Regions from separate parts of the Homo sapiens genome. Here all the other regions are linked to region 3. The links are contacts of gene promoters, found by promoter capture Hi-C in human tissues and cell types (Jung and others, 2019). All regions are on one chromosome and are shown on one strand. The core of a region is centred on a gene start or on the middle of the fragment in contact, and the rest is flanking DNA. Distances in the headings are between cores, read along the strand shown.

Region 1 (4,635 bases), core at 1,324-3,823, 1.8 Mb after region 3:
TTTTTAAAAACTTTTTTGATGCAAATATTTCATAGCTAGTATTCTACCAGGAGGCACACAATGTACAGTGTCACTTTTTCTGTGATGTTAGTGCCATTGATTGATGATCTCTGCCTGTATCTATTATTTCATGTAGTTTTTGCAAACTGGTGGTTCTCTGATACTCTAGTTCTGTTTTTGGAGACAGGTCTCACTCACTGTGTCACCCAAGCTAGAGTGCAGTGATGCGATCCCGGCTTGCCGTAGCCTTGACTTCCCGGGCTCAGGTGATCCTCTGACCTCAGCCTCCTAAATAGCTGGGACTGTCAGTGCGCCACCATGCCTGGCTAGTTTTTTAGTTTTTTGTAGAGACAGGGTTTCATCACTCAGGCTGGTCTGAAACTCCTGGGCTCAAGCGATCTGCTCACCTCGGCTTCCCAAATTGCTGAGATTACAGGCGTGAGCCATCTCACCCAACCCATTCCTCTTTTTATGGAGAAGGTTTCTCTTAGCAACTATATGGTTAACCTAGCATATAGTTTGTAAAGGAAAGATAGTTTTTTTTTGTTTTGCATATCATTAGGCAATCACTGATTTTAAATTATTGAATGCGTTTCAGTCCATTGCAGTTCCTCCTCTTACTGATGCTCAAATTGTTTCATCTTTGGCCAGTGGGAATTTCTTTAGTTGGCTCCTGTGGCCTTTTGATGTGACCCTATTAATAGTCTTTTATAGTTTCCTTGCTGTCCAACCTCTTGTGTATTCTGGGAGATAGAATGAACCATTTCTGCAGAGTTTGGGTTCCTTTTAGTGAGAAATGGAGTTTCTAGGCTATGATGTGTGTGCTAGGTTCTCTGCTTTTTTTCTCCTCCCACTCCTTCAGTTGAATAATCTGCTCACCTTTGGAAATGGATCCTGCCTGCCATGTCAACTCTAATCGTGGTAAAAGCTTTCCTTGCACACTTGCTCATGCCTGGCCTCTTTGGCTCTCATTTGCCACTTTCATGCTTGTGCTTGTCATCTTGTCCTTTCCTCCCTTAAGAAAAAGACCAAACTGAAGAATTACCATGGATGGTTTGTGGTTTGACTTGCCTCCTGAAGGCCAAAGCTCATGTTAATGTAGGCTTCACAGAAGTCTTTAGTCATTGCCTTCATCATGTCTGCCTGATAGTTTGTTCTATTCCTTGTATACATAACCAGGACATGAGAGATTCCTTATCTTATTACCACCGTGAGCCATTCAGGCTGCAAGCTGTATTTCGATGGTATTGTTGGGTACGTTTGTACTCATCTGTTTCAATAAATATTGATTGAATTAAGCTTTGTACTTCTTCTCCAAAGTGTTTAAAATAGAATGTATTTAATGTCCTAGTCATTTAAAGAATTTATCACTAGTCTATTATTTTTATAAGCTTAAATAAGTTAAAGATTTGTAGTTTTAGATAGATTTATGCATTGGATCCCTAGTTGTAACATAGCTATTGTTTTAGTGCTGCGGGCCTATAGTAGTAGGCCTGCAAGTCTAAGATGAGTGTTTTTTATTTAACAAGTCTGCTATTAAACTTATTTTTAGTATTATAATTTCTGTCTTTGCTTCTTGGAAATTGTTTTATGCCCATGTTGGTGCATCATAGACTATGCACTTAGGCCAACCACCCCCCAGTCCCCCCAGCAAAGCAGGGCTCATTTTAAAGACACGCTCTAATGCTTTCTTCAGAGTTTCCATTCAGACCTACAGTTTTAGCTTCAGTAATACTTTTTTGTTTTGTTGGTGAAACAAAGCTGTATGCGTTCACAGTGCAGCCAACACAGTCTCATGACGGCACAAGTGAATAGTCCTGAAATTATCATCATTCTCCACACCACTGAGAAGTTAACCAGCATCCTGGCCTGGGAAATTTTGGATACACATTTAATGCCCCTCACCCACCACCCCGGCTTTTTTTTCTTTTTAAAGCCGCAAGCTTAATGTAATGGTTCCTCTGTATTAAAGGAAAGTACAGTATTGTAGGGGTTTATTTCCCCCCCGCCCCCGCTTTCCTCCGTGGGCACTGAGAGTAGGGGGAAGAGCCCCGTAATTCACAAGGCAGGCTTCTGTGCCCCGCGGTAAACTCAGTTTCACAAAGGGAATTTTCATTATGGTCCTGTGGCTCCCTAACATAGTGGAGGCTTCAGGAGGCAAGTGGTAAAAGCTACCAAAGAAAAAGCTGGACTGGAGCCACTGACGTCATGTCAGTAAATCTGCTGGAGGAGCCCAGCCATGCAGCGCCTGCCAGCCGGCCCCTGCACTTTGGCCTTGCCTGGTCAACTGTTCTTACTGCTTCCTCCACCCCCACCCCACAGAACAGCCTGTGTTTTTTGTGTTCTTTTCCCCCTTTTCCTTCTGTGCAACTGGGCTGTGTTGAAACCCATAAAGGCTTTTGAAAACCACCCCTACTGGTCCTGTGCTTAATGTCTTGTGTGGGGATAGTGGGGAGAACCCAACAATCCATGAATGAGGGAGGCTTTAAAAGTTTTTTCTAGTGGGGACCTCTTTGTGATGAATAAATCCACAGGGAACATCATGGAAAGCAGCCAGAGGTGCGAGCCCCTGGTGCTTAGTACTTTTAAAGAACTTCGCTTTTAAGTCCTGGGCTGTGTGCACATGTGTGTGTGCGTGTGTGCATGCGCACAGTAAAGGACAGAGAAGGCCAGTCAGCACATGGGTGGAAATACAGAATTTCAGCCTTCTAGCAGAGGATGATTTAAGAGAATGAGTTCCAATGCGAGTCCTTTATTACCCATTAATCATTGGTCTGCTCACTCTGAACTCTGGTTTGCAACTGGAACAGTTAAATCTTAAGCTACATGCTTCTGTACATCCTGGATATTTAGAGTCACAACCCCAGATGGGCCTGAATTAAAATATTGCTGTGCTAAATCTATTTTTACATCTAGGGGAATGACATCTAAAAATAAACCTTATCCCACCTGTTATCCACTTTTGGGAAGTTGAAACGCTGTTAAGTCGCAGCCCATGGATTAAGCTTTGATGACGGCTTCCCATGTGATGCCTGCATTCCACTTTTCCTGCCACTGGCATGATGTTTTCATTGTTTCGGTAACCGTTGTCCTCCTGTTTATTTTGCTGTGAATATTCATTTGCAAATAAGAGTGAAGCATAGGTTCAGACTGGTTTTGATTTTCCTGAATCTTAGGGTCAGAAACATATTAAAAGCAGTATCTTATCCATGAATCATGAGATGAGTCAGTTCCTGAAACCACTACAAGCCTCATAGTTCTTGGCTACAAGCAAAGGCAGGAAATCCAGGCTTCAATAACTTCCTTTCCCAGTCCTGGCTATAGCCGCGTTGGTGGTTAGGTTCTGCTGCCTGCCTTTGTAAGCGGTAGGAAGATGTATGTCTGAGGAACAAAGGCACTTGAGTCAATTTACTGAAACTGTTTATAATTTGTGGTCTTGATCTGAATGTCAGGCTGCGTTGGCACACCCTGCTCTGCTGTGCGGCCCGGCACAACTCAGCCAGGAAAGGCGGCAGGCTGAGTCCGGGGAAGTGCCCCAGCAAACACATGGCAAATGTTTCAAGGGGCTTTAGTGTTCCAGTGAATCCTAAAACTAGGGGACATGCAAGCCGACACTAGGCAGAAAGCTCTGGATTCCATATGTATAGTTGAAGTATCGACTCTTTGTTTGTTCTTCACTTGAGAGAAAGGAGAGAAAAAAGAGAGAGAGGGGAGAGAGACGAGAGAACAAACTAACACACTCGCCAGCCTGCCAAGCTCTGGCCTGTCTCTTGCTTTTACTTGCAGTTTACTTCCTTATATACAGGGTCCTCTTTTTTTTTTTTTCCTTTTGCAGTGTTTCACGCCAGTCTTCCTGACTTCAGAATCAGTTTTATAACTGTTTTATTAAATATTTTAAAGAGTAAGGGAGAAACACGAAGTTGTCTCCCAATGTTGGGTCTGCTGTGACTCGTATTTATTTTTCTCCTTTATGAGCAGTGCCCACTTTGTGTACGTACCCAAGTCAGAGCAGAGTTGGGTTGGTGTTTCTGTGTGAAGTTGGGACTCACTGTTGCTTTGTGCTTTACTTGTGAATTTATGAGCTTTTTCAATCTTGAGAAAAATTAAAATTGAGTGTGACTCATTTTCATTTACCAACTCTTACCTTCTTTTTCTACGCTAATTGGTGTTAGCTAGCGTGGGATTTGAGAAAATGGGACTGAAATGAGACCCTTCTCCCCCCTACTGTAGGTTTATATGGAGTCATTGGAAGTTCTGATAGAAGTCTAAAAATAGCATGGGTAGACAAACCCTGTGAAAAGACACTGAGGAAGATGGAAAAAAATTTGAGATGATGAGCAGTTAGATATTGATGCTACCTTTTAAATTGAGCTTGTTTCCAATTCATAGCTGGCAATAGCTCAGAAAGGTCAAATTCTATTTCAGCCTTTGTAAAGAATAAAATAAAAGCAAATGCAAAAGTTTGCCTGGCTTTTTAATCAAGTGTGGCTAATTCAGCGCACAGCCAGGCTGGCGAGGGCCACTTCGTTCTTACTTGTCGTTTGTATTTTGTGTTTGGGTAATTTTCTGTTCAACTTCAGGCCTCACTAAAAGGCTCTGATAAGCTGTTGAGAAAGTCGGGCTCATTTTGATTTT
Region 2 (4,678 bases), core at 1,423-3,922, 1.0 Mb before region 3:
GTGGTGGGGGAGGGGGAGAAAATAGGCACAGTATAAAATCTTGGGTTGGGCTTAGAGGTTAGAAATGTTCCTAATTTATGCCCTGCCTATAAAAGTAGACTCAATGAGAGGTTATTATTGCTCCTTTGTTGAATCTAAGAAAAGATTCTGTTCCTATTTCAGTATCCTTTTTATAAGGTTCTATATGACACACTTCTCTGACAGTTTAACATATCATTAAAACTGGAGTTAGTGTCTGTCAAAGGTTAGGTGAACATCCTTTCCTGGCACACAGCAGTCTATTGTTTGTTTTTAAGAAGAGAGGCTATACCCTGAAAGCATGTAGTCTGGAATTACCTTCTGAATAGGCGGAAGTCTTCTGCTTTCTCGATGTACTGCTTCTAGGGTCTCAATGTGCATAGCTACAATTCCTAGGATGAGTCAGAGTATTCAAAATGAAAGAACACAGACAAGCAGGATAAAAACAAATTCTGGATATTTTAGAATTAAAAGTTAATTACAGTTTACTGGTTCCTCAAAAAAGTTAAAGAGAATTACCATTATGACCCAGCAATTCCACTTCTACATATATACCCAAAAGAAATGAAAGGACTCAAACAGATACTTATATGTGGATATTCATGTATTATTATTTATAATAGCTAAAAGGGAGGGAGAAGTAACTCAAATGTCCATCAACAGATGAATGGATAAAATGTGGGACAGCCATACCATGGAAAGTTACTCAGCCATAAAAAGGAATGAAATTCTGATACATGCCACAACACGTATGAACCTTGAAAACATTATACTAAATGAAATAAACCAAACCCAAAAGTACAAATATTATCTAAGTCCACTTATGTGAAATATCTAGAACAGGCAACTTTATAGAGACAGAAAATACATTAGAAGTTACCAGGGGAAACAGGAGTTACTGCTTAATGGGTAGAGTGTTTGGGGTAATAAAAAAGTTTTAGAAATAGATAACAGTGATGGCTGCACAACATTGTAGATGTAATTAATGCCACTGAATTGTACACTTAGATTATTTTATGTTATATATGTATTTTACAACAATTTAAAAACATTTTAAAAACTAATCAGAAAATAAATAAATAGCATGGCTGAACTATAATGGAAGACATGTATTGCCAGGTTTTATGCTGAAACTCAATAATCTCCAATATTCTGATTCTCTAATATCTGCAGAGTGATTACCTGGTATCATGCAATGAAGGCTCTTGATGTGATCCTGAGTAACTCCACTCTCTGTACAAACTTTGTCAATAAATCGGGTAATGAACCGCACAACAGAATTGGCAATGTCAGTATTCTCTGAATCTTCAAACCCACTCTCTGTATCATAGCTCTCAGCTACACTTCCTGCAATACTAAGACAGTCAAGGAAAGAAATCATGGTCAGTACTTAAATGCAACAAATGACTACTATATAGTAGTCAATTTACATAGCGACAGAAACATGAGCAAAGTGATGTCTACTCAAGTAGAAGGCTCACTTAACTCCATGGCTCCTTGGTAAGTGATGGTGATAAAACACAATGTTCTACTAGTCTACATTTGGAAACTACTGTCAGGCAGTAAGTTTCTGTAAGGAAATTTGTTTGGACCCAGATTTGTTTCTGTAAGGAATACCTTTAGTCACTCTCCCAAAAGGAATGCAGGAACCACAGAAAATAAAGCAAAAGAGGATTTTTTCATTTATTATGGACTACCTGGGCCTTCTAAAGCAACCTGTCCTCCCAAGTTAATTATTACATAGAGAACAAGTAATACAGCTATCTTTGGCTACTTGGCAACTGAGGAACATGTTCCCTGGTAGGCAAAGTAAGAGAATTTTTCTCAGCAACAAGCGTACTCTTCCATATGTAAGGACCAAACTGTCCCTTCTCTTGCCAGGATTTATCACTCTCTGAGTTAACTGCAACCCATTTGGCCACTTTGAAGCCAGCATTCTTCTGTAGATGATAAAATCATGCAAGAGAAGGGAACAAATTTGAAATGGAACAGATGTGAAAGCTCAATCTCTGCCCTTCTTGCTTATTCAGCTCTTACTGTTCAACCCATCAGACTCTGGGAAAAGACTCATTTGTCTGTTCCTATTAACTTCTCTTTTCTGCAAAGCCAACCACATTAGCTGAATCAGTGTTAGAGATTGTTAAAGTAAAGCTAAGCAGAGACTATGGCCATCAACATGCAGACTTTGAGAGAGCACTGTCATCTATAATGATTATTATTTGTTTATATTTATTTATTTATTTTAGAGACAGGGTCTCACTCTGTCACCCAGGCGAGAGTGCAGCGATGCTAGCTGTAACCTCAAACTCCTGGGCTCAAGAAATCCTCCTGCAGCAGTGATTCTCCAGCCTCAGCCTCTCAAGTGGCTAGGACTACAGGTGTGTGCTACCACACCTGACTAATTTTTATTTTTTGTAGAGATAGGGTCTCACTATGTTGCCCAGGCTGGTCTTGAATTCCTGGCCTCAAGCAATCCTCCCACTTCGGTCTCCCAAAGTGCTGGGATTATAAGGTAGTCAGCCCCATGCCTGGTCCAAAACTTTAAAAGAAATGTAAAATATAGTTATTGCTTGTTATAATGAAGATGAACGTCACTGGCAATGGAGAATGGAGATAAAGCTGTGACAGCTAAGGAATATCTTACAAATTAAACAGATAGGTCCTGTATTGAAACAGAGTCTTGTGGAATTATGAGTAGTGAAGGAATGGGAAAGCATCATTTCGGGAAGATCCTTTTGGCAGTAGAAAGAAGAATAAAAAATGAAACAACTAAGAGACTGTTATAATTAGGGCTTGAAGTGATAAAGGCCAGACTATGTTGTTCCCATTAAATAACCAGAGGATGAACAAGAAACTCTATATGGGTGGGGGTAAGAGATCTGTGCAGTTGACTGTATGGTGTGAAATGCTGATTCCAAGTTGTCTAGCCTGGAAGACCAGAAACTCTGAGGTGTCCCTGACAAAAATGAAGTACCTAGGATAACAAGATTAAAAGGTTTGGGCCAGAGATTTAGGCTTGTGGATGAGTCTTCCACAGAGTAAGAAGAGCTTGGAAGAGGAATTGAGAATGGGAAGAGAAGAGGAGCTGCCTGAAGGAGCATGAGGAGAAGAATTTATGCGAGCTCGAACTACCAGGATGTTGCGGCACCCATCACTGAAGCTCTAAGGATAGAATTTCACTACTGTTGGGTTGATAAGTTCATTTATTCACTCATTTAATCATCTGTTCAACCAAATATTTATTGAGTACTATATGCAAAGACACTAGGAATACAGCAATGAACAAAACTGACAAAGGAAACATAACAAGCAAACATATGAAAATAAATCAGGTTGTAAAAAATGACATGAAAGACAATGCAAAGTAGGAGAGGGAGAGGTATTATTAAGATGCAGAAGTCAGGAGGGCTTCTTGAGGCAAGTAACATTTGAGCAGAGACCTAAATAAAGTGAGGAAGTGATTCTTGGCCTGTTTAGGTGAGAATATTCCAGAATGAAAATACCAGTACAAAGGATGTGAGGCAGGAATATGCTTGGAGTGTCTGAGGATTAGCATGAGCAGGGAGACCAGTTTGGTTGACAGAAGAGTGATAGGAAATAGGGGGTCAGAGCAGTAGCCAGAGGACGGATTCCGTTAGGCCTTGCAGGCCATGGTAAACACTGGGTTTTAGTTTCAGTGGTATGAGAAGTTACTGGAGGGTAGAGAGGAAGGCATGGTTGAGGGTATGACTACAAGGTTGAGGAAAAGGAGGGCTGAGAAACAAACAGCCACTTTTGCAAGAAGGTGCTCACTAATTTCTTTGGAATGATTTCTGTAAATTGCTTTGGCAGACAGTAACTGAAGGGCTGGATCAGTAATGGGTGAGACATTTGGAAAAATTAGGTCATAAAAAAGAAGAAAGTGTGGGAAGTGGTTAAGAATAGTAGGATGAAGTGAATCTTTTAGAAAGAAAAGCTGAGCAAGTCCAAAGGTGAGGAAAAATGGTTAACTTTTGAAATATGTACAGCAGTATTTGCTCAAAATGTTTAATATTATCTGTCAAGCCAAGACTGGCCCCAAGAAGAGTAGGAGGAGGGTCTGTGTGTTCACATTTTGGTACCTGTTTGTGACAATGCTGTTGCTTCCGCTCTCCCAGTCACCTGGCGCTGATGTTCTTAGGAGCTTGTTTTTACTTGTGTCGAGTGGAACTAGCAGGTTCACCATGAGGTTTGCAAAGTGAATGGCCTGACTAAAGACAGTGCTTTCCTCATGTTGCACTAGCTCTTGCTGAGTTGACTTGCTCAGGGTAGGCCAAAGGCGTAGTTGCTCAGCTGCCAGGTCCATTGCTGTCTTCTCCTGATAATGGTCATCAGGAAGCTTATCCTAAAAAATAAAGCAACACAATCCAAAAGAGAACCATCACTTCAGGTGAGCTTAAAAAACATAGATTTTTTTTTTTTTTTTTTTTGAGACGGAGTCTCGCTCTGTCACCCAGGCTGGAGTGCAGTGGCACGATCTTGGCTCACTGCAAGCTCTGCCTCCCAGGTTCACGCCATTCTCCTGCCTCAGCCTCCCGAGTAGCTGGGACTACAGTCACCTGCCACCACGCCCAGCTAATTTTTTGTATTTTTAGTAGAGACGGGGTTTCACCATGTTAGCCAGGATGGTCTCGATCTCCTG
Region 3 (4,917 bases), core at 710-3,209:
AGATCTTGAGTCAAAATGGTTCTCCTATTAAGGGGTAGAGGATAAGATACCTGAAATAAGGTGTTCTCCTTTCTGTAATCCCTCTCTCCACCTTGGCAGCTTGAAATGCACTCTTCAAAAGAATAAAATTAAGGGATGGGGTGGGAAGGGGAGTAACCAAAAGCCTAGAATGAGAAAAATTAAAATTAGATACAGTAACAAGCAGAACTAACTATAAACCCGTAAGATGGGTTTATTCTTTCTGGATCTAAGCAGTGAAAATGATTCTTTACTGCAATGCAGATCTTGGACTGAAAGAGAAGACGCCTAGCATAGTAAAAATTCTAACATTTTCATCCTGTTCAATATCTTGGCAATTTAGATGCTTTGAGATGTTCCCCCACCTACTGACTTCATAGAAACATGTTAAAACAACACCACCACCACACTTTCTAGAACTTGAAACTAAGCCTAATTTTTAAAAGTACAACCTCATCAATGTCTCTAAAACTAGGTCTTGAATCTAAAATGGAATTATACATAGAACTATTACATGAAGCAGTTCTTTCACTACAATCATTTTTAGCCCCCCAGTGACCAATCTCCTCAGGTAAACAATGTCTAATGACTGATGATTGTTTACTGTATGCCAATTACTGCTAAATCCCTCATATAGATTATCTCATCTATGAAGACACAAGGATTATTAATAACCCCACTTTAGAGATAAACAGACACAGGTTAACACATCTCGCTAACACCTCTTGTAAGTGAAAAACCAAGTTCAGAGCCCAAAAAGTTTGACTGCATAGCCCATGTGTCTAGCCATTACTTGGGTGTTCCTGAATACTTTTAATTCCCCAACTACTAAAAAATCTCGTTACTAGGAGTTGGGTTATGCAGCGAAACGGATGAACAATGGATTATAACTGCCAGAAAGTCGAGGGTCTCATACTAGCAACAGCATAAAGCCCTGCTTCTTATTGGGAGCAAAAAAGCAGATTCTCCTTCCACAGTCTCCTTTTGGATTTTGCAACGGAGAACTCTGTGGAGCTGCTGGTTCACGTAAAAGATCAGGATCCCTCTCGTTGCCAGAGGACACAGAAGAGTAGGAAGCTTTTGTTTTCAGAAAGAAGGTCCTCAACCCCACCTCTTCGAAGGTGTTTCCCCGAATTTCTCGAGGACAAAGAATCTGGACTCCTTTGAGAGTAAAGTTTCCTTTCCACTCCCTGAAGAGCGGGGAAAACTTCCGTCTTTAGTCTCCTTCCGGTTAAACTGACAAGTATCACAATCCTTTCTCCCCTATCTTCGGGCGGTTCCGGCTGGGAACAATACCCTCAGGGTCAGGAGGACAGGATCTGAGTGCAGGCCAGCCAAAAAGGTGGGAACAGATGCTCCTTCCAACACCTAAATGCTTTTTTAAACGGTCACCTGGATGTGCAGCCAGGGCCAACTATCCCTCAGCTCCTCCCTGTCACAGGTGCGCGCTGCCCACAGATTGCCACGACTGGGGGGCTCCCTACCAGTCGCAGCCCACCCTCGCCTCAGGTCTTCTCTCGCGTCCCCGGGCGGCCGCCTGCGCTAACGACCACATGAAAACGTCTCAGCACCCAACACCATCTCTCTATTTCATCTCCATCAGCGATGGAGAGAACGGATTTTGCCGCGGCTGGGCTGCACAGCAGCGCCGCGGTCCACAGCAGAGCCCGCGACCGCCATCTTAGGCAGTTCCAGGAAGCGGCCATTTCAGAGCGCACCGCTTAGCCGCGGCGGCGGCTCTGCTTCTCACCTTCACCGAGGCCTGAACAGGGTCAACAGCCAGTCGTCGTGGACTGGAGGGGGAGGGGAGAGAGGGAGGGGAATGAAAAACAAAACAGAGAGGAAAGAAGGATTCGGGGACAGGGTGATGCTCTCAGCTCAGGGATATCGCCTAGGCCATCTCCATAGAGATCCGATTCGCGGCTGGCGCGGTCGCCGGTCTGAAGATAAATTTAGCACTCTAGAGCACCCGAACCCTACAATCTTCACGAGCGACTCTGCCGCCGCCCAATCAGCGCCAGATTTGCGTCCCGCCACCAATCCGCGCTGAGCAGCGGGGCGGGACCAAAGGAAAGGACCAAGCTCGGTTGAGGCGCGGCCCAGCCGCAGCCGCAGTCACAGCCTCAGCCGCAGCGGCCGTGCTACCTAGGTGATAGCGGAGCGGCTGGGTAGGAAGCAATTGTTCTCAAACTTCACTAGCCCCGTCGGCGCGGACGCTTGTCGAGAATGCAGATTCCTGGGTACTGCCAGATACGGTTGGTGATCTTGTAGGGCTGGAGTGGAAGCCATGAATCTGCATTTTCATCATTTCTGGCCCTCTGCCCGGGCTGGGGTGATTCACGGGGATTCGTAGTGGCCCCAAAGGAGCACGCAGAACCTCGGCTGCTGTGCATTTATCACCTCTTTTGTTCCCGGAGGCCGCACCCCAGGTCCAGTTTACACAGCTGCCAACTCCTTTTCTTGGTTCCCACTGGAATCTAGGAAGAAAACTCGCCCTTTACTTCTCCGCCCCACACCCGACGACGGAGTGTCTAGAGGTCTGGTCGGCCTTGGCTGTGCGGAGGGCTAGGCCTGACGAGCGGGCGCTGATGCGGCGCAGACCCCGCCGGACCTCTTGGTCGGCCCGGGGTAGGCTGGGGAGCCGCGGGAACAGGACTGGATAGGGAAAGCGGCACCGCAGCGTCCACGGGCAAGCTGAAAGTCCGCTTGATGTCTTTGCATCACAGTGGCGCCCTCCCCGCAGGAACGCCCGGCCGCCTGCACCGAACGTTTGCCTGCAGGGAACGGCCAACCCGCCCTGAAATACTCTTTTTGTGGGCTGCAGCTTTCGGGTATTTTAAGCCATGGTTCTGTGCCCTTCCTTGTTTTCAAAAACACCACAGCCAAAGGCTGCGGGTTGTGTGCTTTCATTTTGTGTTAAGTTCTGTGGTGGAGACCTGGAGTCTGTTTTTCCAAATAGGCACCTTGAAATAGATACGCTTCTTAAGCGGGGAAAGTACGAGTAGGTCCTATTATTTGCAATGTTTTAGCCTTTCCAGACTCCGTACAAATGACTAAATGAAGATTGGATCGTATTTTCAGGCACTGCACCAATGATAGAAAATTCTCAACTTGGGGTCAAAAGCAAGGGCAGCTTTCGTTTTTCTTAAATATGCTTCTGATCAAATATCTAAAGTGTTGAAAGAAACCTAACCCTTAATAGCACAATTTACAGGAGTGCATAATTTCCTAGGACTGACATTTAGTTCCAAATGTTTTAAAGTCAATTACAACATCATCTCACCCTATAGTAAGCTGTCCATATATTCTCATTATTATTTTTAAATTATTTCTATTAAATCAGCTTCATTTGAACTTTAACCATAAATGCATAAATCGTTTTTGGGAAGGGGGTACAGTCGCGCTTGAAGAGCAAGGGATTTTGTCATTGCGGGAGTTGTCTGGCTTCAGAATAATATTGGAATAATATATTTTCGTGTTTCATATTTTAGAAAAACCTTTTACATATGTGCTCCCAAACCAATCTTTTTTTATTTTTTATTTTTTTTATTATTATACTTTAAGTTCTAGGGTGCACAACTTGCAGGTTTGTTACATATGTATACATGTGCCATGTTGGTGTGCTGCACTCGTTAACTCGTCATTTACATTAGGTATATCTCCTAGGGCTATCCCTCCCCCCTCCCCCCACCCCACGACAGGCCCTGGTGTGTGATGTTCCCCACCCTGTGTCCAGGTGTTCTCATTGTTCTATTCCCACCTATGAGTGAGAACATGTGTTTGATTTTCCTGTCCTTGCCATGGGCTCCCAAACCAATCTTTACACATCTTGTTTACATCTTCATGAAGAGGGAAAACCCAAAATATTAAACTGTTAGGCAGAATAGTGTTTAAATAAGTACATCTAAAGTTTAGGAATTAGGTCCTGATATGATTTGACTCTGTGTCCCTACCCAAATCTTATATCGAATTTTAATCCCCACGTATGGAAGGATTAAAGTGATTGGATTATGAGGACGTTTTCTCCCATGCTGTTCTGATAGTTAAGTGAATTCTCACACGATCTGATGGTTTTATAAATGGTAGTTTTTCCTGTGGTCTCACATGCTCTCTCTCACCTGCCGTCATGTAAGACCTGCCCTGTAAGACGTGCCTGCTTCCCCTTCCTCCATGATTGGAAAATTTTGTGAGGCCGCCCAGGCATGTGCAGCTGAGTCAATTAAACCTCTTTCCTTTATAAATTACCCAGTCTCGGTATTTCTTTATAGCAGTGTGAGAATGGATTAATATAGGGCCCCAAATCTGAAGTGTCTCATAATTAAAGTTCATGAAACTTAACTTTTTTTGTAATCGTTTTGTCAAATTATTACAGAATGTTGATGGGACAGATAAGAAAAAATACAGACAATGTAGAACTCAGACCAGTAATACATAGCTAGCATTTATTGAATACATAATGTAGGCCGGGGAGCTATTGTATACGCTTTTTTTGTTTTTGTTTTTGTTTTTTTGAGTCAGGGTCTCACTCTGTTGCCTAGGCTGGAGTGCAGTGGCACGATCTTAGCTCTGTGCAACCTCAACCTCCCGGGCTCAAATGATCTTTCCACCTCAGCCTCCTGAGTAGCTGGGACTACAGGTGCATGCCACCGTGTCTGGCTAATTTTTGTATTTTTTTATAGCGATGGGGTTTTGCCATGTTAGCTAGGCTGATCTCAAACTCCTGGCCTCAAACGAGTCACCCGCATTGGCCTCCCAAAGTGCTGGGATTACGGGTATGAGCCACCAGGCCTGGCCTATACACTTGTAAATTTATTAAGTCTTTTACTGTTCACAACAATTTTATCAGTTGATTAACCTTATTTTACAGATAAGGAAATTAAGCACAAAGAGGTAAATAAC

What was found. Contacts are between HindIII fragments. The study calls those that stand out against the background at their distance.
Region 1: a contact is called between a fragment that was not itself captured here and the fragment with the promoter of ZBED5 in region 3, in 2 of the 25 tissues and cell types used here (bladder and psoas muscle).
Region 2: a fragment that was not itself captured here is called in contact with the fragment with the promoter of ZBED5 in region 3 in 1 of the 25 tissues and cell types used here (hippocampus).

The regions. Positions count from the first base shown.
Region 1 is chr11:12,690,593-12,695,227 of GRCh38, forward strand. The region is part of intron 2 of TEAD1 (TEA domain transcription factor 1); the gene reads left to right. Among named protein-coding and RNA genes, the nearest start is that of TEAD1, 18 kb to the left of the region's middle. RefSeq lists an enhancer at 2,816-4,015. The HindIII fragment of the contact is 5,849 bases long and covers 1-4,635 here.
Region 2 is chr11:9,852,340-9,857,017 of GRCh38, forward strand. It overlaps SBF2 (SET binding factor 2), which reads right to left. Exons shown (of 40, transcript NM_030962.4): 19 at 4,119-4,381; 20 at 1,201-1,373; 21 at 337-410. All of the region lies in intron 1 of LOC101928008 (a long non-coding RNA gene), which reads left to right. Among named protein-coding and RNA genes, the nearest start is that of LINC02709, 95 kb to the left of the region's middle. RefSeq lists an enhancer at 3,469-3,568. The HindIII fragment of the contact is 9,218 bases long and covers 1-4,678 here.
Region 3 is chr11:10,856,094-10,861,010 of GRCh38, forward strand. ZBED5 (zinc finger BED-type containing 5) reads right to left here and starts at 1,960. Exons shown (of 3, transcript NM_001143667.2): 1 at 1,769-1,960; 2 at 51-164. It overlaps ZBED5-AS1 (ZBED5 antisense RNA 1), which reads left to right and starts at 2,124. Exons shown (of 3, transcript NR_034137.1): 1 at 2,124-2,273. RefSeq lists enhancers at 1,626-2,005, 2,159-2,796, 2,306-2,395, 2,797-3,432. The HindIII fragment of the contact is 25,171 bases long and covers 1-4,917 here.